2 separate regions of the Homo sapiens genome follow, and region 2 is linked to region 1. Evidence: promoter capture Hi-C in human tissues and cell types (Jung and others, 2019). All regions are on one chromosome and are shown on one strand. The core of a region is centred on a gene start or on the middle of the fragment in contact, and the rest is flanking DNA. Distances in the headings are between cores, read along the strand shown.

Region 1 (5,254 bases), core at 1,158-3,657:
TGCACTCAACAAGATGGATGTAATCACACAGAAGATTTTCTGCCACAAATCACAGTCTCATCAGTTTAGAATGAAATGATTACTATAGGTAAAAGTCCCAACCAAGGGGCGTATTTGTATCATGAGGCTGGGCCAAAAGGTACCTCACTTGGGACAAGCCTCAATAAAAAGGCACTTGGTCTACCATCCAATGAAAACTGGTAGTAAATATGGTAGAAAAACTGATAACTTGGAAAGCAGGTGTTAAGACTCCAAAGTAATCCTAAGAGGTAAGAGAAATTGTTGGTCTGTGAGGAGCTGAAGTTTAATCAGGAAAAGTAAAAAGGAACAGAAAGAGTTTGAACCAGAGCTGGAAAAGGGGGGAAGAACTGCTGCTAACATGACCCAGAAGAACAAACCTGTTTATTTGTCAGGCACCAGTCAGATCTCATTAGAAAAATATATTCAGTTTGAAAGAAGCGTATGGTGAAGCCAGTGTGTGTTCATCAGAAAACATCAAAGTCAAGAAAGGGATTGGAAATACAGCCACTGGGAAAGTTAAAAATGTCGGATGTAGTTTTCTCTGTCTGGAGAAGAAGGCTGATGAATGATGCTACTAATGAATAAAAACAGAGGTCCCTTCTATCTCTATATAGGTCAAACAGAAAAAAATGGGTCTTGATTGCAAGAGAAGAGATTTAGGTTATTTTTTTTTAATTCTTAATAATCCTGCAGTGTACAATACCAGATAGTGGGCTCTTCTTTTTCTTTAGACAACTTAAGAGCAGGATGGGTCACACTTCTGTTGTGATAGGGCTTTATGGCAGAGAAATAATCTGAGACTCAGAATCTCTTTCTGTTTGGCAACATATTTTGGGTATTCTTATTCAATATCCAAACAGTCAGAGTCAGTGAAAGGCTTCCAAGAGCAGTCAGAAACTTGGTAACTATCCTGGCTTACTTACATCCTTTCAATAACACTTGCAAGAACCTTGAAGGCCAGGGTAGGTAATCACAGATGTCAAGTCGTCTATTTTCTTGCCTATTTGTCTTTGACAAAAGAGGTAGGTGGGAACCCTAAGCCCAATGCACAGGAAAAACAAATTCCCTTTTTATCTCAGAAGTCCAAAGATGGCTCAGGGCCTCATGGGAGCACCCTGGACTGATTCCCAGCCTAGGAGGTTTCCTTTTCAGAGACTTTTCATGAGAAAGGAAAATTCTTGCTAAAGCAATAAAGGGAAACTTCCATTTTAGCTCTCTTCTCTGAATTCCAGCTCTGTATCCACTTTTAACACACAGGGCACTAATTCTCCCTCTTCGTCCCATCTTTCTGGTTCTCTAGCTCCTGTGCAAATCCTCCCTGAAGGCTTTACCTCTAGCTACATATCTGGACACTTGTCTCAAACCCTTTCTCCATCTCCCCCAGGTAGCAGAGTCTCTTAATGGGAAGCCTCTTTGTGCAGAGCCCATTGGGCCAGCTGTAAGTTTTTCTATACCACTGACAGAAATCCGTGGAAGTGCTAGCAAAAATCTCAGCAAAGGATGGGATGGGTACCTGTCCTCAGCTTGCATTTCCTAAGATATTCACGCAGAGCCAGCACCTGGGCGGTTAAGGTGGTAGCCCTAACCTCGTTTCTCCTGGTTCCAGGATGATCCCATGCCCACTGCAGTGTGGGTTCTAGGGCTTTCATTTCCCCCTTTTCTTCACACATATGGGTAGCAAGGGACCTGCAAAAGGAAGTTTCTGCAGCCAGTGCTGATGAACAGAAAAGGGGCCATGTTATAAAAATGAGTAGCCCAAGGGCACACGGACGAGTTGGCTCCGTCCATCAGAGAACCCTGGCCCCTGCCACGGGTAGGGCATGGGCGGGACGGGAGCCTGCTCAGGGGTAAGGTTGCTTCTTCCCTTCTTCTTGTCACAGTGCCCCTGGAAAGGGTCAGATTTCAGAGAATCCGAGCAAGGCAGAACTGGAGCAGGGGAAGTGAGGTCAGAAAACAGGTTTCCCATGAGCTGGGGCATGAGCAAGTGAAGAGAAAGGGAGCCACGGGGTAACCTGTGCGCGAGTGACAGCGGCGGGAGCCCGCAGGGCCTGACAGTTGCGATGGGCACGGGGAGACAGGGCGAGAGGCGGGCACAGAATGTCAGCGGGGCAGACCCCCGGGAAAGGCAGCAACCCGGAAGACGCGCCGATCCTCCTCCCAGCCCCTATGGGTGACCGAGCCCCCACCAGCCGCCCCGGGAAGCCAGGCGTCCCTCCCTCCAGCCGCAGCTCCCTCCGGCCCGGCTCCACTCACCCCCGGTAGGCTTGGCCCGCGGCCCGGTGCCTCCCTCCCGGGCGCCGCCTGCCCCTCCCCTCCGCCCTCCGCTTGCGTCTGGGAGCCGGCGGCCGGCGGAGCCAGCGACAGGCGGAGACGGCGGCCCGGCAGGCGCGGGCGGGGCGGGGCGGGCACAGGAAATCCCCGCCCGCTTCCGGGGCTCTGCGGCGGCGGAGGTGCGGGGAGTGGGAGGGAGAGGAGTGGGAGGGAGAGGAGTGGGAGGGAGGGAGGGAGGGAGGGACGGGAGGGGGCGGGGCTGCGGCTCAGGCGCCCCCAAACGCGAACCCGGGACCTCCGCGCCCGCCGCTGTGGGGAGGGTGCGGCCCGAGACGCTTGGAGGGCGGCGGGCGCCGGAATCGCAGCCTGCTGTGGCCACTTGCCCGCACTCTTGCCTGACTGACCATTTTCCGCTCTGGCTACTGGGCCTCCCACGGAGTTCTGTCCTCAGGGTTCGTCAATTACCTGGAATTGCGTAACCGCCCGTTACAGGCCAGACCGAGGCCGAGAGCGATTTCTCCAGACAACAGTCTGGAATTCCTCAAGGAGCGTACCCTCTAGTTTTCACGATAGGATAAAGGGCTTGAGAGAGCACTGAGGAGGAGTCACTTATTCTGCCTGAGGGGAAGTCAGGTTGCTATCTGAAGTTGGCCTTGCGGCTGCTGTCCCATTTGCGGGAGCCGTAGCCGCAGGTGACACCTGAGCTCTCGAAATGTGGCTGGTCTGAATAGAGATGTGTTCCAAGATTTAGAAGATTTAATTTAAAAAGTGATATTTTGGGTATATTGGGTTAAATATATTAAAATTAATTTCACCTGGTTTTAACTTTTTAAATGTGGCTATAAATATGGCTTGCATTATATTTCTATTGGATAGTGCTACCTTGCAGCATTAAGATGGATTTGACTAGAAAAGATGAGAAGGGCCTACAAACAGTGAGTAAACCCATTGCTGTTAGAATCTGTTTATAACCTACAAGTCACATTCACATTCCTTATTTCATCATTACAACAATTTTCAAAAATTTTATTTAGTAGACTTAAAAAATAATTGACTCACTTAAGGTCATATGTGACAATCATTCGTTTAATGCATATTTATTTTCTACGTGTGCCAGACACTGTAACTAAATGCTGGGAGTTAAAGGATTCACAGTCTGGGGAAGCACATGTCAACAAATATTTGCAATAAAAACGTAGATTCTAAAACAGAGGAACGTACGCTGCACTTGAAGCAAAGAGAAGTGACCACGTATGGGACGGAGGTCAGAGAAGGCCCCCCACTCTGACAGAAATCGTGAGGCAGAGAAGAGTCAGGAGGGCTGTCTAATGAAAGAGGAAAATGCAGTAGACACGCAGTTGGGAAGAGTATAGAGCATATTCTAGGAGCAGATCATGGGATATGTCGGGGTAGTAGTAGAGCCAGAATTTTTATCCCGGGTCCTGGAACTAAGTCCAGGGGTTCTTTTCACTTATGCTACCACTGGTGGTAAATATAAGGTGCGTTAATTGGAGTAGGCTAGCAAAACCAGTATCTCGGGGCTTAACTCCATAAAGGCTTATGTTCATACAAGTCACAGTGTGGTAACAAGTTGGTTGGGGCCAGAGGGTGGGGTCTGTACTTCTTGAATTCATTGAAGGACCAGGCTTCTTGCATTTGGTGGTTCTCCCATGCCGAGGCCTTGGTAATGTAGTCAAATCTGTGGCCCTCAGATAAGGGAGGCTGGCCGTGGTTAACTTGTCAGAGATATTAGGGGCCAGTCCTGGAAGTGGTGTGTATCATTTTCACCCCATTCCCTTAGCCAGAACTCATGCGCATGGTCACATGGCCCTACCCAGAAGGGTGGCTGGGAAGTAAAGAATGTGTGCCTCATGGAAAAGGAAATGGGCGCTGCTGGACACAGCATTGCCTCGTCACACAGAGTTAAATTGAACATAACCAAGTACGTAAACCTGACTTTACCTGAAAAGAATGTTTGGAAAGAACTGATAGATATTATAATAGCCCAAACTCTCCTCGACTGTTTTGGGAAACAAATCAGTGTGAGATTGTTTCCAAAAAATAAAAAAAGCCAGGTGCAGTGTCTCATGCCTGTAATCCCAGCACTTTGGGAGGTAGAGGCGGGCGGATCACAAGGTCAGGAGTTCAAAACCAGCCTGGCCAACATAGTGAAACCCTGTCTCTAGCTGGGCATGGTGGTGCGTGCCTGTAGTCCCAGCTACTTGGGAGGCTGAGGCAGGAGAATCGCTTGAAACCAGGAGGTGGAAGTTGCAGTGAGCAGAGATCGTGCCACTAATACTCCAGCTTGGGCAACAGAATGAGACTTCGTCTCAAAAAAAAAAAAAAAAAAAGAGGCTGAATGGTATCATCTTCTTTATACCAGAACCTTTTCTTTTTAAAAATAACTTTTATAATTTTAAATTTGTGTAGTTACATAATAGGTGAATATCTTTATGGGGTACATGAGATATTTTGATGCAGGTATGCAATGCATGATAATCACATCATGGGAATCAGGTATCCATCCCCTCAAGCATTTATCCTTTGTGTTACAAACAATCCAATTATACCCTTTTAGTTACTTTAAAATGTACAGTTATTATTGACTATAATAACTATTAAATACTAGGTCTATTAAATACTAGGTTGTTCTATTAAATACTAGGTCTTATTCATGCATTCAAACTATTTTTTGTACCCATTAACCATCCTCACTGTCCCCATTCCCCCATTACCCTTCCCAGCCTCTGGTAACCATCCTTCTACTCTCTATCTCCATGGGTTGAATTGTTTTGATTTTTAGATCCTCCAAATAAGTGAGAACATGTGATGTTTGTCTTTCTGTGTCTGGCTTATTTCGCTTAACATAATGACTTCCAGTTCCATCCATGTTGTTGCAAATGACTAAATCTCATTCTTTTTTTATGGCTGAATAGTGCTCCATTGTGTGTAAGTACCATTT
Region 2 (5,254 bases), core at 1,996-4,495, 260 kb after region 1:
AACGTCAGATGCAGAGGTGGATTTTTTTTCTTTTTTTTTTTTTTTGAGATGGAGTTTCACTCTTGTCTCCCAGGCTGGAGTGCAGTGGTGTCATCTTGGCTCATTGGAACCTCCACCTCCAAGTTTCAAGCGATTCTCTTCCCTCAGCCACCCTGGTAGCTGGGACTACAGGCATGCACACTACTCCTGGCTAATTTTTGTATTTTTTGTAGAGACAGGGTTTCCCCATGTTGGCCAGGCTGGTCTCAAACTCCTGACCTCAGGTGATCCACCAGCCTCAGCCACCCAAAATGCTGGGATTACAGGCATGAGCCACTCCAAATGGCATAGATTTTCTAGTTTATATGCATAGTAGTGATTATAGTATTCTCTGATGGTTGTTTGCATTTCTGTGGGGTCAGTGCTGATATCTCCCTTATCACTTCTGATTGTGTTTATTTGAATCATCTCTCTTTTCTTCCTTATTAGTCTATCTATTTTAATAATTTTTTTCAAAAAACCAGCTCCTGGATTCATTGATGTTTTAATGGATTTTTTGTGTCAGTTCAGCTCTCATCCTTCAGTTCAGCTCTTATCTTAGTTATTTCTTGTCTTCCACTAGCTTTGGGGTTTGTTTGCTCTTGGTTCTCTAGTACTTTTAGTTGACATGTTAGGTTGTTAATTTGATGTTTTTCTAGCTTTTTGATGTGGGCATTTAGTGCTATAAATTTCCCGCTTAACATTGCTTTAGCTATGTCCCAGAGATTGTGGTACATTGTCTCTTTGTTCTGATTAGTTTCAAAGAACTTCTTGATTTCTACCTTAATTTCATTATTTACCCAAGAGTCATTCAGGAGCAGGTTGTTCAATTTCCATGTAGTTGTGTAATTTTGAGTGAATTTCTTAATCTTGAGTTCTAACTTGATTACACTGTGGTCTGAGAGGTTGTTATTATTTCAGTTCTTTTGCATTTGCTGAGAAGTGTTTTACTTCCAATTATGTGATCAATTTCAGAGCAAGTGCTGTGTAGCAATGAGAAAGAAGAATGTATACTCTGTTGTTTTGTGGTTGAGTGTGCTGTAGATATCTGTCAGGTCCACTTGATCCAGAGCTGAGTTCATGTCCTGAATATATTTGTTAATTTTCTTTCTCAATGATCTGTTTAATATTGTCAGTGGGGTGTTAACATCTCCCACTATTATTGCGTGGGAGTCTCAGTCTCTTTATAGGTCTCTAAGAACCTGCTTTATTAATCTGGGTGCTCCTATATTGGGTGCACATATGTTTAGGATAATTAGCTCTTCTTTTTGAATTGAACCCTTTACCACTGTGTAATGCCCTTCTTTGTCTTTTTTTATTTTTGCTGGTTTAAAATTAGTTTTGTTAGAAACTAGGATTGCAACCCCTGATTTTTTCTGCTTTCCACTTGCTTGGTAAACTTTCCTCCATCCCTTTATTTTGAGTCTGTGTGTCTTTGCAAATGAGATGTGTCTCTTGAAGACAGCATACCAACGGGTCTTATCTCTTTATCCAGTTTGCCATTCTGTGTCTTTTAATTGGGGCATTTAGCCCATTAACATTTAAGGTTAGTGTTGTTATGTGTGAATTTGATCCTGTCATCATGATGCTAGCTGGTTATTTTGCAGACCTTGTTTATGTGGTTGCTTCATATTGTCACTGGTCTGTGTACTTCACTGTATTTTTATAGTGGCTGGTAGTGGTTTTCTTTTCCATATTTAGTGCTTCCTTCAGGAGCTCTTGCAAGGCAGGCCTGGTGGTGATAAATTCCCTAAGCATTTGCTTCTCTGAAAAGGGTCTTAGTTCTCCTTTGCATATGAAGCTTAGCTTGGCTAGATATAAAATTCCAGGTTGGAAATTCTTTTCTTTAAGAATGTTGAATATTGGCCCTCAATCTCTTCTGGCTTGTATGGTTTCCACTGAGAGGTTTGCTGTTAGTCTGATGGGTTTTCCTTTGTAAGTGACCTAGCCTTTCTTTCTGGCTGCCCTTAACATTTTTTTCTTTCATGTAGACCTTGGAGACTCTGAGGATTATGTGTCTTGGGGTTGATCTTCTCGTGGAGTATCTTACTGGAGTTTTCTGCATTTCCTGAATTTGAATGTTGGTCTGTCTTGCTAGGTTGCAGAAGTTCTCCTGGATGATATTCTGTAGTATGTTTTCCAACTTGGCTCCATTTGCCCCATCTCTTTCAGGTACCCCAATCAGTCATAGGTTAGGTCTTTTTAAACAGTCTCATATTTCTCTGAGGTTTTGTTCATTCCTTTTCATTCTTTTTTGCCTGTCTTATTCAGAAAGATTGTCTTCAAGCTCCGAGATTATTACTATTCTTGTCTGCCTGTCTTATTTCAGCAAGATAGTCTTGAAGCTCTGAGATTCTTTCCTCCACTTGGTCTATTCTGCTACTGATACTTGTGACACATTGTGATGTTCTCATGTTGTGTTTTCAGCTCCATCAGGTCTGTTTTGTTCCGCTCTAAACTGGCTATTCTGGCTATTAGCTCCTGTATTGTTTCATTTTGTATTTTGTAGAGGTGGAGATTTGCTCTGTCACCCAGGCTGGAGTGCAGTGGCCTGATCTCAGCACACTGCAACCACTGCCTCCTGAGTTCACTGGTTCTCCTGCCTCAGCCTCCCAATTAGCTGGGATTACAGGCAAGCACCACTGTGCCCAGCTAATTTTTTTGTATTTTTGGTACAGACAGTTTTCATCATGTTGGCCAGTCTGGTCTCAAACTCCTGACCTCATGATCTGCCTGCCTCAGCCTCCAAAGTCCTGGGATTATAGGCATGAACCACTGCACCCAGCCTCCTATATTGTTTTATCATGATTCTTAGCTTCTTTGCATTGGGTTAGAACATGCTCTTTTAGTTCAGTGAGGTTCATTATTACCCATCATCTGAAGCCTACTTCTGTCAATTCAGCCATCTCAGCCTGAGCCCAGTTTTGTGTCCTTGCTGGAAAAGTGTTGTGGTCATTTGGAGGAAAAAAGGCCCTCTGGCTTTTTGAGTTTTCAGCTTCTTTGCATTGATTCTTCCTCATCTTTGTGGGCTTATCAACCTTGAATCTTTGAGGTTGCTAACCTTTGAACAGACTTCTTGTGGGGTCTTTTTTGTTGATGTTGTTGCTGTTGTTTTCTGTTTGTTTGTTTGCTTGTTTGTTTTTCTCTTAACAGTCAAGCTACACTACTGTAGGGCTTCTGTGGTTTGCTGGGGGTCCACTTCAGACCCTAGTTGCCTTGTTTTTTCCAGTACTTGGAGGTATCACCAGTGAAGGCTGCAAAACAGCAAAGATGGCTGCCAGCTCCTTCCTCTGGAAACTTTGTCCCAGGTGGGTACTGACCTGTTGCTGGCCCAAACACACTGGTAGGAGGTGTCTGGAGACCCCTGTTGGGAGGTCTCACCCAGTCAGGAGGAATGGGATCAGGGACCCACTTAAATAAGCAATCTGTGCCGGGCACAGTGGGCTCATGCCTGTAATCCAACACCCTGGGAGGCCGAGGCAGGTGGATCACGAGGTCAGGAGATCGAGACCATCCTGGCTAACATGGTGAAACCCCATCTCCACTAAAAAAAAACAAAAAAAAAAAATTAGCCAGGTGTGGTGGCAGGTGCCTGTAGTCCCAGCTACTCGGGAGGCTGAGGCAGGAGAATGGCATGAACCTGGGAGGTGGAGCATGCAATGAGCCGAGATCATGCCACTGCACTCCAGCCTGGGGGACAGAGTGAGACTCCGTCTCAAAAATAAATAAATAAATAAGCAATCTGACTGCTTTTTGATAGAGCAGGTGTGCTGCACTGGGGGGAGCCCTTCCTTGTCCAGACTGTTTGTATTCTCCAAAGCCGATAGGCTGGAAAAGACTGAGTCAACCAAACCACAAAGACAGCAGCTGCACCTCCCCCAGGGGCTCTATCCCAGGGAGAGATCAGAGCTTTTTCTGTAGAACCCTAGCTGGAGTGGCTGAAGCTCCCACAGAGAGGTTGCACCCAGTGAGGAAGAATGAACTGGGGTCCCGCTTAAAGAAGCAGTCTGACCACAGTCTGGCAAGGTGGCTGTGTTGCTTTGTGAGGGACTTTTCCTCATCCAGACTTTATATTCTCCAAAACCAGCAGACTGGAATGGCTGAGTCTACCAAACTACAGCAATTATGAGTTTAATTTCTTTTATAGATATAAGATTATTCAGATTTGTATTAATTCTTATGTCATTCTGGTCATTAGCATCTTTCAAGTAATTTAAAAATTTTATTTAAATTGTCAAATGTATTGGCATAAGGTTGTTCATAATACTGCCTTTTAATTCTTTTAATATCTGTAGGGTTTGTAGTGATACCTCTTCTTTTGTTTATTGATATTGATAATTTGTGTTTGTCTGGGTTTAAGTCAATTTAGCTGATAATTTATCAATTTTATTGATTTTTTTCAAAGAGCTAATTTTTTGCCTGTAATCCCAGCAATTTGGAAGGCCAGACCACTTGAGCCTAGGAGTCCAAGACCAGCCTGGGCAACATGGTGAAACCCTGACTCTACAAAAAATCTAAAACATTAGCCAGGCATGGTGGTGTATACCTGTAGTTCCAGCTACCTGGGAGGCTGAGATGGGAGGATCACCTGAGCCCAAGAGGTTGAGGCTGCAGTGAGCCATGATCATATCACTGCACTCCAGCCTGAATGACAGAACAATACCCTGTTTCAAATTTTTAAAAACTAATTTTTGTTTTATTGGTTTTTCTCCTTTATATTCATTGATTTCCATTCTTTGTTATTTTCTCTGTTCTATTTACTCTGAGTCCATCTTGCTTTTCCTGATCTACCTTGTTAAAGTGGAAGCTTAAATTATTGGTTTTAAATATTTATCTTTCTAACATAAGCATTTAAAGACATAAAGTTTCTTCTAAGCACTGATTTAGCAGCATTTCACAATTTTTCATATGTAATTATTATAATTTAGTTCAAAATATTTTCTAATTTCCCTTGTGATTTCTTCCTTTACTCATGGGTTATTTAAACACACATTGCATGCGAGGCACAATGGCTCATGCCTGTAATCCCAGCACTTTGGGAGGCCAAGGCAGGAGAATTTTTTGGGGCCAGGGGTTTGAGACCAGCCTGGGCAATATAGCAAGACCTTGTCTCTACAAAAAAAAAAAAAACTTAATTAAGCAGATATAGTGGCACATGCCTCTAGTCCCAGCCACTCAGGAGGCTGCAACAGGAAGATTATTTGAGTCCAGGAGTTTGAGGTTACAGTAAGCTATG

The links. Contacts are between HindIII fragments. The study calls those that stand out against the background at their distance.
Region 2: a fragment that was not itself captured here is called in contact with the fragment with the promoter of ZNF641 in region 1 in 1 of the 25 tissues and cell types used here (adrenal gland).

The regions. Positions count from the first base shown.
Region 1 is chr12:48,348,512-48,353,765 of GRCh38, forward strand. ZNF641 (zinc finger protein 641) reads right to left here and starts at 2,408. Exons shown (of 6, transcript NM_001172681.2): 1 at 2,275-2,408. RefSeq lists enhancers at 1,919-1,988, 2,427-3,163 and silencers at 2,129-2,558, 2,839-2,918. The HindIII fragment of the contact is 12,105 bases long and covers 1-5,254 here.
Region 2 is chr12:48,612,017-48,617,270 of GRCh38, forward strand. No RefSeq gene overlaps it. Among named protein-coding and RNA genes, the nearest start is that of SNORA2C, 40 kb to the right of the region's middle. The HindIII fragment of the contact is 5,812 bases long and covers 340-5,254 here.